Linked DNA regions of Homo sapiens: region 2 is linked to region 1. Evidence: promoter capture Hi-C in 16 types of primary human blood cells and fetal thymus (Javierre and others, 2016). All regions are on one chromosome and are shown on one strand. The core of a region is centred on a gene start or on the middle of the fragment in contact, and the rest is flanking DNA. Distances in the headings are between cores, read along the strand shown. Region 1 holds the start of CEACAM4 (CEA cell adhesion molecule 4). Region 2 has its middle 7.8 kb from the start of CYP2A13.

Region 1 (6,935 bases), core at 1-2,500:
CCAATAATAGGCTTGAATAGTTTCTGAAATATTGCAGGCCAGTAGAAGAACATCCTTTCCCTCTGCAGCACTGGACGGCAGGGCTTCAATAGTGAACTGGACAGTGGTGGGCGGGTGCCAGAAGGTTAAAAGTGAGGCTAGGAGGTGAAGACAGCATCAGTCAATACTGGGACCTATGGAGTGGGATGGAAAGATAAGGCCCTGGGTCCTCAGCAGGTCTCCTCATCCCTCAGCCTTGGAGTGTGTGTGTGTGTGTGTGTGTGTGTGTGTGTGTGTGTGTGTGTGTGTGTGTGTGTGTGTGTCCCTGGGTCAGCAGCATGACCCCCATTCCTTCAACAGCTTGGACCTTGGCATTTCCCTGGTGGAATCTTCTTCCCCAGGGGTCTGCACGGCTCCCTCCCCACTGCCCTCAGATCCTGCTCACATCAGGGTGTTTTTGGGAGACCCCTCCCCTGACACCTCCTCTAGAGACCCTGGGTCTTCCCTTTCTGACCTTTCCCAGCTCTGTTCCCTCCAGGGCTCTTGTCAGCACCTGACCTCACATTCTAGATCTCTTTAGGTGTTTGTCTTCCTCCCCATGAGAGCGTGAGCTCTGTGAGGGCGGGGACTTGTGTGATCTTGGTTGCACCCCAGTGCCTGGCACAGGCTGCAGACTCCTGTAGATGAGTTCATGAGCATTCTCAGGGCCTCCAAGTCCTGAGGTTTATTTCCCAGTGTCTGAGGTTGTTGGCTAAGAGCAGTGTTTTATGCCCTGGTTATGTTTTTATTTGAAGTGTCATCTGGTATAGTTATTATCATTTTTCAAAATGTAGTGGCCAGTGATGATTAACCAGGACGAGAGAACACTTGAGATTTTCCTGCCTTTTACCAATTCCAGTTCACTGAGATTTTCCTGTTGTGACCCCTGCCCCTCTCTGATGTTCTCTCCCTTATCCAGCCTCCAACAGAGGCCCTCAGTCCCCTCTCAGAGCCCCAGGAGACCCCAGCCAGAAGCCCTCTATCCCCTCCTACCCAAGAGACCCCAGTCAGTCTCTGTGCTCCCTCTTCCCACCACTCCCAGAGAGTCCTCCCCTCACCTGTGATCAGGAGCCCCTGCCAGGGCCTGTGCCCTCCACGGGGAGCGGCTGAGGGGGGGCCCATGGTCTCTGCTGCCTGCTTGTCCTCTGTGGAGAGGAGCTGGGCTCCAGGAACGCTCTTGTCAGAGCTGCTGTGACTGTCGGCTGTCGGGGCTGCTGACCTTCCTCCTTCTGTGCTGAGCCTCCTCCCGGGCAGAAGCACTTCCCAGGGCCAGGGGCAGAGGCGGGGCTCTTCCCAGGTCACCCCTCTGCCCCTCCCCTCTCATTTCTGCCTTTTTTGTCCCTCCTTCCCCTTTCTCTTCTGTGTACATTACAGTTTCCTAACCACACTTTGAGAAGCAGGGTTGGTGGAGTCCCCTGTCCCCAGAGAGGGTGACTTGTCACCCCTGCACTGACCCTTTGGGAATGTCACCACAAACAGAGGTACTCTGGGGTCTCCCAAACTTGGGGAACTGTTTCCTTTTGTGACACAGAGACCCAGCTGGGCCCCCAGGTCTCCTCATGCTCCCCAATACTCAGGGAGTGTGAGATGATACCCAGCAGGAAGGTGACAGAGGTGGCTCTGTGGGATAGAAAATGGGGGGCGACTACGGGGGGGACCAGTCCTCTCTCTCCAGTGTCACCAGCCTTGCCTCTGACCCAGGGACAGAGATCCAGGCCTGGGGGTCTCAGGAGGATCCCCAGCTCCTGGATGTGGAGGGAGGTGTCCTGCATGTCCTGGGAAGAGAGGACTGTGGTGGAGGGAGGTGGGTGGCTCTGGGTTCTGCTGTCCTTGAGGAGGGATTCAGGGAGATCCTCCCTCTCCGTTTCTGTTGGCTGAGCTGTGGCTTAGGGCCTGTGCATGTTCTCCCTTACCATCCCGGGTGGCCTCTGTCCTCTGTGAAGGTGATTGTCCTGTTGTCACTGTACCTTCCCCATGCATGATACCAGGAGAAAGTGGAGAACTGAGCAGAGAATCCTGGCAGAGCAGGATCCTCAGAGGCTCCAGGAAGGATCAGGAGAGACAGAGCAGGCACATGGGAGGGACTGGAAGGGCCTGCTGGAGCAAAGTATGGAAACCAGGCTTCACCTCCACCTCCTTAGCAAAGCCAGATTCCTGTCCAGGGGAATCCATTTCCTGTGTTGTCTGCGTGCAATGTTGCCCCTGGAGAGCAAGAGGAACCCTGTGGTAAAAGTCAGGGGCTTCCCCAGGGATGCTGACCAGGGTCCACGTGGTATGAGTTGGCCCTGGCCCCTGGGCAGAGGTGGGCTCTGACCTCCAGACTGCAGGGTCAGGTCATCCTTGGTCCTGTTCACTGTGGGTCCCCAGGATGTCCAACTCCATGCAGTGCAGGATGAGCTCAGGGAGAGGACGAGAGTTGTCCAGAGCACTCCTGGTCCTGATTTGGGAGAACTGTCCTGCAGGCGGATGGGCTGCCTCAGAAAGAGCCATCCGTCCCCAAGGTTTCAAAAGAAGGGCCCAGGGAGGTGTCTCTGGGGGTTTAGAGAGAGGGCACTGGCCTGGGAGGTGGTCCTCGGTGTGTTCTGTGTTCCTCCATCACAACACTGGGAGTTCCGCCTCCAGGTCATCTGTGTCCCTGTCTGTCACCTGCCCCAGGCCTCTCCACAGGGCCCAGGAGCTGGGGCAGCTCCTACCTGCAGGCTGCAAGGGATACCTGGTTCCTGTATTAGAGCAGGGGAGGCCCCGTGACCCTCAGTCCCTCTGAGATGGAAACAAAGGCAGATCCTGGGTTATCCTGTCCCCTCCTGCAGGAGAAGTTCCCCTGGATCCCCTGGTGAAATGTCTGCAGGGACCATAGGCAGATGTCCCAAATACTGGGGATCTCGAGGCTGGGGAATCACTCCCTGACTTTCTTGTGGTCATTCTGCCCTGGTGGAAGATCCACCTGGGATCGAATATCCGGAGTTTGTGTCAGTTTTGGTGTGTTTGTGAGAAAGACATATGTTAGAGCCTGGAGGGAATGTCAGTGAATGATGTCAGGGAATGAATTGGGTTTGCCCCTCACTGTTAGAAAGACCCTGAATTCCCTCCCGATGCTACTAGGGTAAAAGCCATGTTCTTATGCTCATTTCTCTAAGGAAATGCAAATAGAGTTTATTAAGGCGTTTCTGGCCAACTAAGGTGGATTTTGTCATGTAGACACAATATAGACCATAATACATGTACATATGCAAAAACACACCTAAACACATATCCACAAACAAATAAAAATCTTACAGCTTTCATTTTAGAATTTTAGTGATGAGATAGTAATACAAACTCACTAGTTGATTAAAGTCAACTGGATCCAATTGTATTTCTGACAAATTGGAATCGTTAACATGGATAAACTTTATTTGCCCCTATAGGTAATATAATGAAGGCTGGGGGAAATATTTTGGGTAAAGCAGTTTCTAATGGCAGTGTAACTTATAAACAAATAAACAAATGAAACCTCTACAGTTTCAGCATCTTTTTTTTTTCTGTTTCACATGAGTTTAGGATTAAATTTTCAATTGCTTACACTTTAGCTAGAACTGGCTGAATTGTATAAGAAAAAAAAATCTCCAACTAGCCTTAAACTAGATTTTTTGTGTGGGTTGGAGGGGGGCGGGTGGTGGTGATGTGGTTTGCTTGATTAACAAATGTGGATGAGGAAGGATTTTAGCTTTTTTTCCTGGCTTTTTCTTTTTTGCCTCTGCATGGCAAAAGAAGAAAAAAGTTTATGTCGGACAGAGACACCTTAAATTATTGCTCTGAGTTCAAGATTTTGACCTGTATGATCTGAGAGCCTAACTTTTATAACCATGTATTTTTTTAATTATTGATTTTTAATTGTGCTCCATTATAAGCAATTATTAGTTAGACAAACTTAAATTTACATTTCCTAAAGGTGTCTAAGTTGTTTCTTATCATGGAGTTGTTTAATTTGTAAAGCCATTAATTTTAAAGCCCTTCAAGATTTCTTTTTTAAAACTCTGGGCTAGAATGCCATAAGCAGTGAGTTTTATCTCAACACCAGTAGAAAAGTCAGCAGATTCAAAGTAGGTAGAGAAAAAAAAATAGAGAATTTAGAAGACTCTACATTTCCACCCTATAGATGCAGGGCTTTTTAAAACAGGTTGAATGATGATCATTGAGTACTGAATTTTCCTTGATGTAATTTTGCTCATAAACTTTAAAATGTGCACAAGAAAGAACCATAAAATGTAGCCAGCTGGAGCCCCAGAAAACCTGGCATGCCTTAATGCTTGAGAGCCCCATTCCATTTCTTATTAATCTCTTGAAAGTGAAGAAAATTTTACAAATCCTGCCAGAGAATGTCAGGCATTTGTACCAGTGTTTTAGATGGTGGCAACCACGCTAGTGGCTGTTAATTAGCCATTTTGTGCCCGTCATTTAGAATGTCTATTTTTTTGTGTTCTGGGATGATTTTCAGAAGCAAGCAAGGGGAAAAGAGTCAAACCAAATAAAAAGAAATCCAGATAAGAGCATTCACAAGAATTTTAACCCAGGCATGCAGATTTTTAAAGTATTTAAATTAGGCACACAGGCCAAAATGGAAGTAAATTCACCAGAATAGACTTGCCTCACAGGCAGAATGTAAATTTTGTAGAATCCAGAGTACGTGATCTAGAAAGATATACGCCTTTCTCTCAGAAAGGACTTGCTAGAAAAGACAAAAAGTTTTTTTTTTTTTTATCATCCCAGGAGAAATGTATGGTCTTTTACTAAGGCAGCCTTATCCAAATCAGATTCCAAATAAAGTCAAGAGCTTCTACCAAAAAGAGGCTCTGCTTGAGCAAAGACTTGTCAGGGCAGGAAAGGTGAGTGTGGAAGCAGAGAGCTCAAACTTCTCAAGTGAGTAGTGCACACTGGTTCAAAGATCACAGATTTCTTCTGATAGTGATCTTTCCCAGATCCCACTTCTGACACCATATATGGTAACAAACAGAGTGAGGCTTTCTATGAGAAACTGATGTTTATTTGGGAGTAGCACATTTCAATGGAAATGCATGTGCCATAGTAAAATGATCTACATATTCGAGTTTTTAAAGGAAAAAATTGGGATTATTATCTAGTCATTTTGAAAAAAAAAAAAAAAAACTAGCTACAAAGATCAATAGCCAGAATGATGCCACTGTGAGGTTCTATAGGCAGTTGCTGGGCAGATGTCCTTGCAGAAGTAGTTTTCATATAAGGTTGTGATGGCCTTTGTATAAACTTGTGGCTTTTGCAGAGTCTTTTGTGATAGTTTTGTTATCAGGCATGAGGATCCTCTCTTCATGGTCTTCTCTGGCTCTATTTGTCAGAGTTTTTTTTCACACTAGTGACTCATTTTGACTCTGACAACTTTCACATCTGTTAATACTTAAAGAATAAATAAAATTAAAAAGACTGAAGTCTAGTAGAAAAGTAGGCAAATATATAAACAGTTTACAGAAGAAAAAACAATTTGAATGATTCGTAGACATATGAACAAAATACCCGCACACATGCAGGAGAAACGGACATTGATATTATCCTGGAAAGGTGAGGATCATAATATGGCCCAGTGGTTTTAAATGCTGAAAAATTCCATTTGATAACACAACGTGTGGGAAGAACTTTGGTAAAAATTGTACTTCCTAACTTTGTTGGGTGACATGAAAATTTGTACCAACTGTGTGGCATCAAATTTGTCAACACTTATCAAAATTTAACATATGCATTCTCTTTGCCTCCCAAACTGCACTGCAAGGAATTTATCACACACTCATGAAAAATGACACCTAATCACGGTTTCTCATGGCAGTGATGGCTTAACAGCAAAATACTGAAAACAACCTACATTTACATTAGCATAGTTAAACAGGTTATATACATTTACACAATGGAATATGAGGCAGATATGTAACCAACAGGGAATTGTTTTAGCCACTGATGCGGAAACTCCTCCGTAGTGTTTTTAAATTATATGGCATAAACAACATATAGCCTATGTGTGGTTTTCACATTGAATGTGATCTTAATTTTTTTTTTTTTTTTGAGACAGGGTCTCATCTTGTTCCCAGGCTGGAGTGCAGTGGCATGATCTTGGCTCACTGCAGCCTCAATCTCCCAGGCTCAAGTGATCCTCCTGCCTCAGCCCCCGCCCCCCAAGTAGCTGGGACTACAGGCATGTACCACCATGCCTGGCTAATTTTTGTACTTTTTTGTAAAGACAGGGTTTCACCATGTTGCCCAGGCTGTTCTTGAACTCCTCAGCTCAAGTGATCCTCCAGCCTTGGCCTCCCAAAGTGCTGGGATTACAGGCGTGAGTCATCGTGTCCGGCCTAATCTTTTTAAACTTTAGAGTTGAGTTCATATGTATTTATTCTATAACTTTTGTTTTTTAACTTAATACTTCTGTATTTGGGGTATTTTTTTCTATTGTCCACTTTTCTGGTGTGTTTCCATCCATTGTTTTTGACTGATTCACTTCTTTGACTTAATGATATGGTATATATATATATTTTTTTTTCTTTTTTTGACAGAGTCTTGCCCTGTCACTCAGGCTGGAGTGCAATGATGCCATCTCGGCTCACTGCAACCTCCGCTTCTCGGGTTCAAGTGATTCTCCTGCCTCAGCCTCCTGAGTAGCTGGGATTACAGGTACGTGCCTCCACGCCCAGCTAATTTTTGTATTTTTAGTAAAGATGGGGGTTTCACCATGTTGGCCAGGCTGGTCTCGAACTGCCAACCTCATGATCCACCCGCCTCAGACTCCCAAAGTGCTCAGATTACAGGCGTGAGCCACCGTGCCCAGCCCCATGATATAGTATCTTTTTCCTTTAATGTTATCTCCTACATCTCATCACAAACATTTATGTATACTTCACAATTACCTTCTGGTTCCC
Region 2 (6,935 bases), core at 2,102-4,601, 550 kb before region 1:
GGAATTTATTTTCTTGAAAGACTTTTTTTTGAGACGGAGTTTCACTCTGTCACCCAGGCTGGAGTGCAGTGGCATGATCTCGATTCACTGCAACCTCTACCTCCTGGGTTCAAGCGATTCTGCTGCCTCAGCCTCCCAAGTAGCTGGGATTACAGGCGTGCACCACCACGCCCAGCTAATTTTTGTATTTTTAGTACAGATGGGGTTTCACTGTGTTGACCAGGCAGGTCTTGAACTCCTGACCTCAAGTGATCCGCACACCTCAGCTTCCCAAAGTGCTGCGATTACAGGCATGAGCCACCACACCCTGCCTTCTTGGGAGACTTTTAATTACTGATTCAATCTTGCTATTCATTATTGATCTGTTCAAGAGTTCTACTTCCTGGTTCAATCTTGATAGACTGTAACTGTCCAGAAATTTATTCATTTCCTCTAGGTTTTCTAGTTTGTGAGGCTATAGCTGTTCATAATAGTCTCTCATGATGTTTTGTGCTTCTATCCTATCAGTTGTAATGTCCCATTCTTCATTTCTGATTGTTTTTATTTTTATTTTCTCTTCTTTCCTGGGTTAGTCTAGCTAGTGGTTCATTAATTTTAACTTTTTGAAGATCCAACTTTTGTTTTGTTGATCTTTTTTATTGTTTTCGTGGTTTCTATTTCATTTAGTTCTGCTCTGATCTTTGTTATTTCTTTGGCTAACTTTGGGTTTGATTTGTTCTTTTTCCAGTTCCTTGAGGTGTGACATTGGTCGATAATTTGTGATCTTTCTACTGTTTTTTGAGATGGAGTCTCACTCTGTCACCCAGGCAGGAGTGCAGTGGCGCAAACTCGGCTCACTGCAACCTCTGCCTCCCAGGTTCAAGTCATTCTCCCACCTCAGCCTCCCGAGTAGCTGAGATTACAGGCATGCACCAACATGCCTTGTTAATTTTTGTATTTTTTAGTAGAGACAGGGTTTCTTCATACTGGCCAGACTGGTCTCGAACTCCCGACCTCAAGTGATCCACCGCCTCAAGTGCTGGGATTACAGCTGTGAGCCACCATGCCTGGCCCTTTCTACTTTTTTGATGTAGGCATTCAGTGCTATAAACTTCCCTATTAGTACTGCTTTTGCTGTATCCCACAGACTTTTGTGTTGTGTTTTCATTTTTATTCATTTCAAACTTTTTTTAAATTTCCAGCTTAATTTCTTTGCTGACCTGGTGATCTTTCAAGAGCATGCTGTTTAATGCCCATGTATTTATACCATTTCCAAAGTTCCTCCTAGTATTGATGGAATGGAATCCTTTTCTAGCTTTATCCACTGTGGTCTGAGATGATACTTGATATAATTTTGATTTTTAGAAAATTTGTTAAGGTATGTTTCATGGCTTAATATATGGTCTATCTTGGAGAATATATCATGTGCTGATGAAAAGAGTGTATATTCTGTAGTTGTTGGGTAAAATGTTTTATAAGTGTCTGTTGAGTCCATTGGGTTAAAGTCCAATTTAAGTCTGTATTTGTCCATTTTTGCATCACTATAAAGGAACACCCAAGCCTCGGTAATTTATAAAGAAAAGTGGTTTAATCAGCTCACAGTTCTGCAGGCAGAACATGAAGCATGGCACTGGCATCTGCTACTGATAAGGGTCTCAGGAAGCTTACAATCATGGTGGAAGGCAATGGAGGAGCCAGTGTATCACACTGGCAAGAGATGGAAGGGGGTGGTCCCAGGCTCTTTTAAACAACCAGATCTCATTTAAACTGAGTGAGAACCCACTCATCACCAAGGGGATGGCACTAAGCCATTCATGAGGGATCTGCCCCTATGATCTGATACCTCCCTCTAGGCCCTACCTCCAACATAGGGGATCACATGTCCACATAAGATATGGAGGGGACACACATCCAAAGCATATGAAAGGCTAATGTTTCTTTGCTAATTTTGTCTCTCAATGATCTGTTTAGTGTATGAGTGGGATATTGAAGCTCCCCACTGTTATTGTATTCTGTATATCTCATTCTTTAGGTCTAGTTGTATTTGTTTGTAAATTTAGGGGTTGTGATGTTCGGTGCGTATATATTCAGCACTGTTATATTCTCTTGCTAAATTGATCCCTTTATCATTATATAATGACCTTCTTTGTTTTGTTTTTATTTTTAATGTTTTTTATTTAAAATCTGTTTTAACTGGTATAAGATATAGCTATTCCTGCTTGTTTGGTTTTTGTTTGCATGGAATAGCTTTTTCCATCTATGTACTTTCAGTCTATATGTGTCTTTACAGGTAAAGTGAGTTTCTTATAGGCAGCATATAGTTGCATCATGGTTTGTGTGTGTGTGTGTGTTTGTTTGTTTGTTTTGAGATGAGTTTTGCTCTTGTTGCCCAGGCTGGAGTAGTGCAATGGCATGATCTCGACTCACTGCAACCTCTGCCTCCTGGGTTCAAGCAATTCTCCTGCCTCAGCCTCCCAGGTAGCTGGGATTACAGGCATATGCCATCACACCCAGCTAATTTTTGTATTTTTAGTAGAGACAGGGTTTCTCCATGTTGGTCAGGCTGGTCTCAAGCTCCCAACCTCAGGTGATCCACTCACCTTGGCCTCCCAAAGTGCTGGGCATCATGTTGTTTAAAGTATTCCGCCAATACATATCTTGTAAGTGAAGCATTTAATCCATTTATTCAAGGTTAATATTGATATGCAAGGCTTTATTCTTGTCATATTGTTAATTGTTTTTAAGTTGTTTTATGTGATAAATTATTTGTTTCTTTCTTTTTCTCTTTTTGTCATTGTGGTTTGATGAGATTCTCCCATGTTGCCATTTGATTCTTTTCTCTTCCTCATGTATGAGGTTGTTTTTATAAGAAATGTGAGTTTTATTTTTCTGTGTGTTTTCATGACGCTGAGTGTTGACCTTTCATTTCCATATTTAAGACCCATTTGAGCATCTCCCATAGGAACAGGCTAGTGTTGACAAGTTTACTCACCATTTGCTTCTCTAGAAAAGATTTTATTTCTCCTTCATTTATGAAGCTTATTCTGCCAGAACATAAAATTTTTGGCTGACAGTACTTTTCTTTCAGCAGTTGGAAATGCCATTCTCTTCTTTTCTAGCCTGTAAGGTTTCCACTGAAAAGTCTGCTGTTAGTCTGATGAGTTTTCTTAATAGGTAACTAGATGCTTTTCTCTTGCTAATTTTAAAATTCTTTCTTTCTTCTTGACTTTAGACTTTCTAAATGTACTATTATGTGAAGTTCTTTTTGCAATGTATTTGCTGGGGCTCTGTAGCTGGATGTCTAACTCTCTTGCTAGATGTGGAAGTTTTCATCAATTACTTCCTAAAAATAGGTGTTCTAATTTTTTAAAATCTCTCTTCCCCCTTGGAAATACCAAAAATGCATAAGTTTGGTCACACTATGTAGTCCCAGATATCTCAAAGTCTTTGATGATTCTTTTTTATTTATTTTTCTTTATTTTGTCAGACAGGACATTTCAAAAGACCTGTCTTCAAGTTCTTAGATTCTTTTTTTTTCTTCTAATTTTAGAGATAGGGTTTCACTATGTTGCCCAAACTGGCCTTGAACTCTGACCTCAAGGAATCCACCTACCTTGGTCTTCCAAAGTGCTGGGATTACAGGCATGAGCCACTGCACCCAGCCATGTTCTGAGGTTCTTTCTTCTGCTTGGTCCAGTCTACTATTGAAGCTTTTGAATATATTCTGTATTCCCTTCATTGAATTTTTTTAGTTCAAGAGTTTCTGCTTGTTTTTTTTTTTAAGTTATTTATCTAGGTAAATTTCTCATTCATTTCCTGGACTGATTTTCTAATTCTTTGTATTGATTTTCAAATTTCTCTTGCATCTTGTAGGGCTTTATAAAATCAGTATTTTGAATTCTTTATCTGGCATATTGAGGGATTCTTTTTGATTGGGATCTGTTGCTGGACAATTGTGGTCCTTTGATGATGTCACATTTTTCTCCTTTTTCATGTTTCCTGTGTCCTTTCATTGATATCTGCAAATCTTGTGTAGCAGTAGCTTGTTCAAGTTTTTTTAATTGCCCTGTAGGAGAAAATTTTTTTCCTGAAAAATGTATGCATGTTGTTAGTTGAGTAGGATACTTTGGCTTTGATTCTGGGTGCCTATGGTAGTGTGATCTTAGTATGACTTCATAGGCAGTACCCAGGGTCACTGGTATCTTTGATTTCCTTGGTAGCTTAGAGTACAGTTATTACTTGAGATCGAGGAGAAATTTAGCTGGGTGGTGGATGCCAACTGAGCCCATCTTTGGGCCCTGGTGGTGGCAGCAGCTTGGAGAGTATGGCTGAGCCCCAGAGCAGTCTACTGGCTTTGGTATTAGTGAGTCCTGGGAGGCTGATTCTTGAGCTTCCTAGTGGCTTGCTTAGAGGAGTCATGGGAGTTGGGGGACAGGGATGTGGGCAAGTTCTCAGGCCCCTGGGAAGCACAACCTGGTGTGATATGGGTGATGGCAGTAGTGGTGGTGGAGCAATCCACTAGGACCCAGGCAGTCCATGTTGGTGTTGCTGGTAGATGCAATGGGTTGGGTGGGCTACTCCCCAGTCCCACAGCATCCTGTAGCAGGGTAGTGGTATTGACCTAAGTGTGCTTAGGAGAGCTTGTTCTCCCCTGTGCCTCCCCCATCTGGGTGGCGGCTACAGTGGCATCACCTCAGACTTGGCAAAAAGGGGGACAGAGCCCAACATTAAACTCTTATGATTGTGCCAGCTGTGGGCTTGTGACCAAAGAGGACAGGCCCCTCTCTGGTAAGCAGTATGGACAAGAAGTTGTGGGGAGTGGGGTCTGCTCAAGTCTCCCTGTCACAGCAGCCCATAGCAGGGTCGGGGAAATTGTCCCAGGTATATGTAAAGGAGCTTTGTTTCCCTGTCCCTCCTTGGCCAGGTGGTGGCTGCAGCCAGGTCAACTCAAACTGGGCCTGAGGGCAGGGCATGGCACAGTATTAAACTCTCAAAATGGTTCCTTGGGCCTGCAACCAGGGTAAGAAGCTGTGGGGAATGTGGTTCACTCACATCTCAGTCTCAACAGCAGCCCGCAGCAAGGCAGAAAGGACCCTCCCATGGGTGCCTGGGAGTGCTGGGTCTCCTCTATACTTACTTGAAGCAGCACAGCAGCAGCAACCATTTCTATAGATCTCCAGTATCCAGGTTCTCAAAACAGCACTCAGCTGAGGCTGCTCTAGGCTCAAATGGGATTCCATGTGGGTTCCATTTTCCAGGGCAATGTCTCTGCACAATCTTTAGGGAGCTCCGTATGTCAGGCCCAAGACCCAAGTGGGTTGAGGGTTTCTACCATAGCCAAGATCATAAAAGCCCATTTCAAAGTGTGGAGCCCTGGGAGTTTCTCTCTTATAATTTCCCCTCATCCAGGAGCCACTCTCAGCTTTCAGTCAATCCCCTCTCCTTACTCACTTCCTGTGCTTCCCTTCTTTTCTCTGTTGAATCCCTTCTCTTCTCTGATGAATTCCAGCATTCTCTCCTAGATAATCTGTTTAAAATGGAGTTCCTCTCCACGAAGAAGGCCATGCTACCTGCATCTGGTCAGCCATCTTGATCACCTTTCTACATTTAAAGAGACACAGCATGTTAAAAAAAAAAAAAAAATTAGTTCCCTTACGAATTGTTGTTTACCTAGCCCTCCCTGTCAAGAAGTGGTCTGCATTTTAAAGGATTTTAATAAGATGAAAAATATTCTAGAATAAATTTGCAGTGACCCCATCTCCCATTCTTCCTGTGGTAAGGAAGACCAAAAGCTATTTTTTTTCTTTTTTCTTTTCTTTTCTTTTTTTTTTTCTAAAGGAAACCCCTTTCTCCTAACTCCCTTCAGAATCTGCTGCTTTTTTTCACCCCCCAGTGATTTCAGGGAATTGGGTTGTTAAAAATGTTTTCTTCAGAGTTAATAGTTTTTATTCACGGGATGCTTGCTCCAAAAGAAGCTACTCAACCATTACCAGAAGAAACTCTTCATCAGTGCACTTGGCAGCTGACATCTTCGTCCTCTTAAAAAATAAAAATAAAAATAAAAATTTTTTAAAGTTGTTCAGAAATGGTGGCTCAAACCTGTAATCCCAACACTTTGGGTGGCTGAGGCGGGCAGATCACCTGATGTCAGGAGTTCAAGAGCAGCCTGGCCAACATGGTGAAACACCGTCTCTTCAAAAGTACAAAAATTAGTCGGGCATGATGGTGGATGCCTGTAATCCCAGCTGCTCAGGAGGCTGAGGCAGGAGAATTGCTTGAAGCCAGGAAGCAGAGGTTGCAGTGGACCGAGATCGCGCCATTGCACTCCAGCCTGGGCGACAGAGCAAGACTCCGTCTCAAACAAAAAAAGCTGTTCATCCCTGTCATCTATCCAACTTCTTTCCCATCTCTGGGCTCTAAGTCTTGCCATTTTCCTGGTAGGCAGGAACTTCATGGCCATGGATGTGAGCTGTCCAAACACTCAGAAAAAAAGAATCTTGACTTTCTTCTCTTCTTTGACCTCCTTTACTCTATTTCAGCCAACATTCCCATAGCCCCACCCTAATCCTTGTCATCACTCTGAAATGTGAAACACAGACATTTCACTCTCTGACCACAACCACTAATACCCCAACTCCCCCACTGCTTCATTGACAATGGCCTGAGGGGTATACTGGCCAACTAGGTCGTTGGTTAAGGTTCCGAAGAGTGCAAACACTATAGAAGGTCAAGTCTCCCTCCTATTAAAAGACTTTTTTTCTAACATTTTGAAAACTTTTGTTACATGTTTACAAGGAAGTATTTGAAGAAGAGATTACAGGCAGTTTTTCTAATATTTCATAAAGAAAAACAGGTGGGGCCTGGCAGTCCAAAGTGGTGATTAACAGCATGAAATTTACTTTCACAGCCAGGCATGGTAGCTCACACCTGTAATCCCAGCACTTTGGGAGGCCGAA

The links. The method cuts DNA at HindIII sites, captures the fragments that hold promoters and counts their contacts. A CHiCAGO score of 5 or more calls a contact.
Region 2: a fragment that was not itself captured here is called in contact with the fragment with the promoter of CEACAM4 in region 1 in 1 of 17 cell types (naive B cells); the score reaches 5.7 in naive B cells.

What each region holds. Positions count from the first base shown.
Region 1 is chr19:41,625,824-41,632,758 of GRCh38, forward strand. It overlaps CEACAM4 (CEA cell adhesion molecule 4), which reads right to left and starts at 1,251. Exons shown (of 7, transcript NM_001817.4): 1 at 1,077-1,251; 2 at 1-137. The coding sequence starts at 1,140. The HindIII fragment of the contact is 7,709 bases long and covers 1-6,935 here.
Region 2 is chr19:41,077,145-41,084,079 of GRCh38, forward strand. No RefSeq gene overlaps it. Among named protein-coding and RNA genes, the nearest start is that of CYP2A13, 7.8 kb to the right of the region's middle. The HindIII fragment of the contact is 672 bases long and covers 3,016-3,687 here.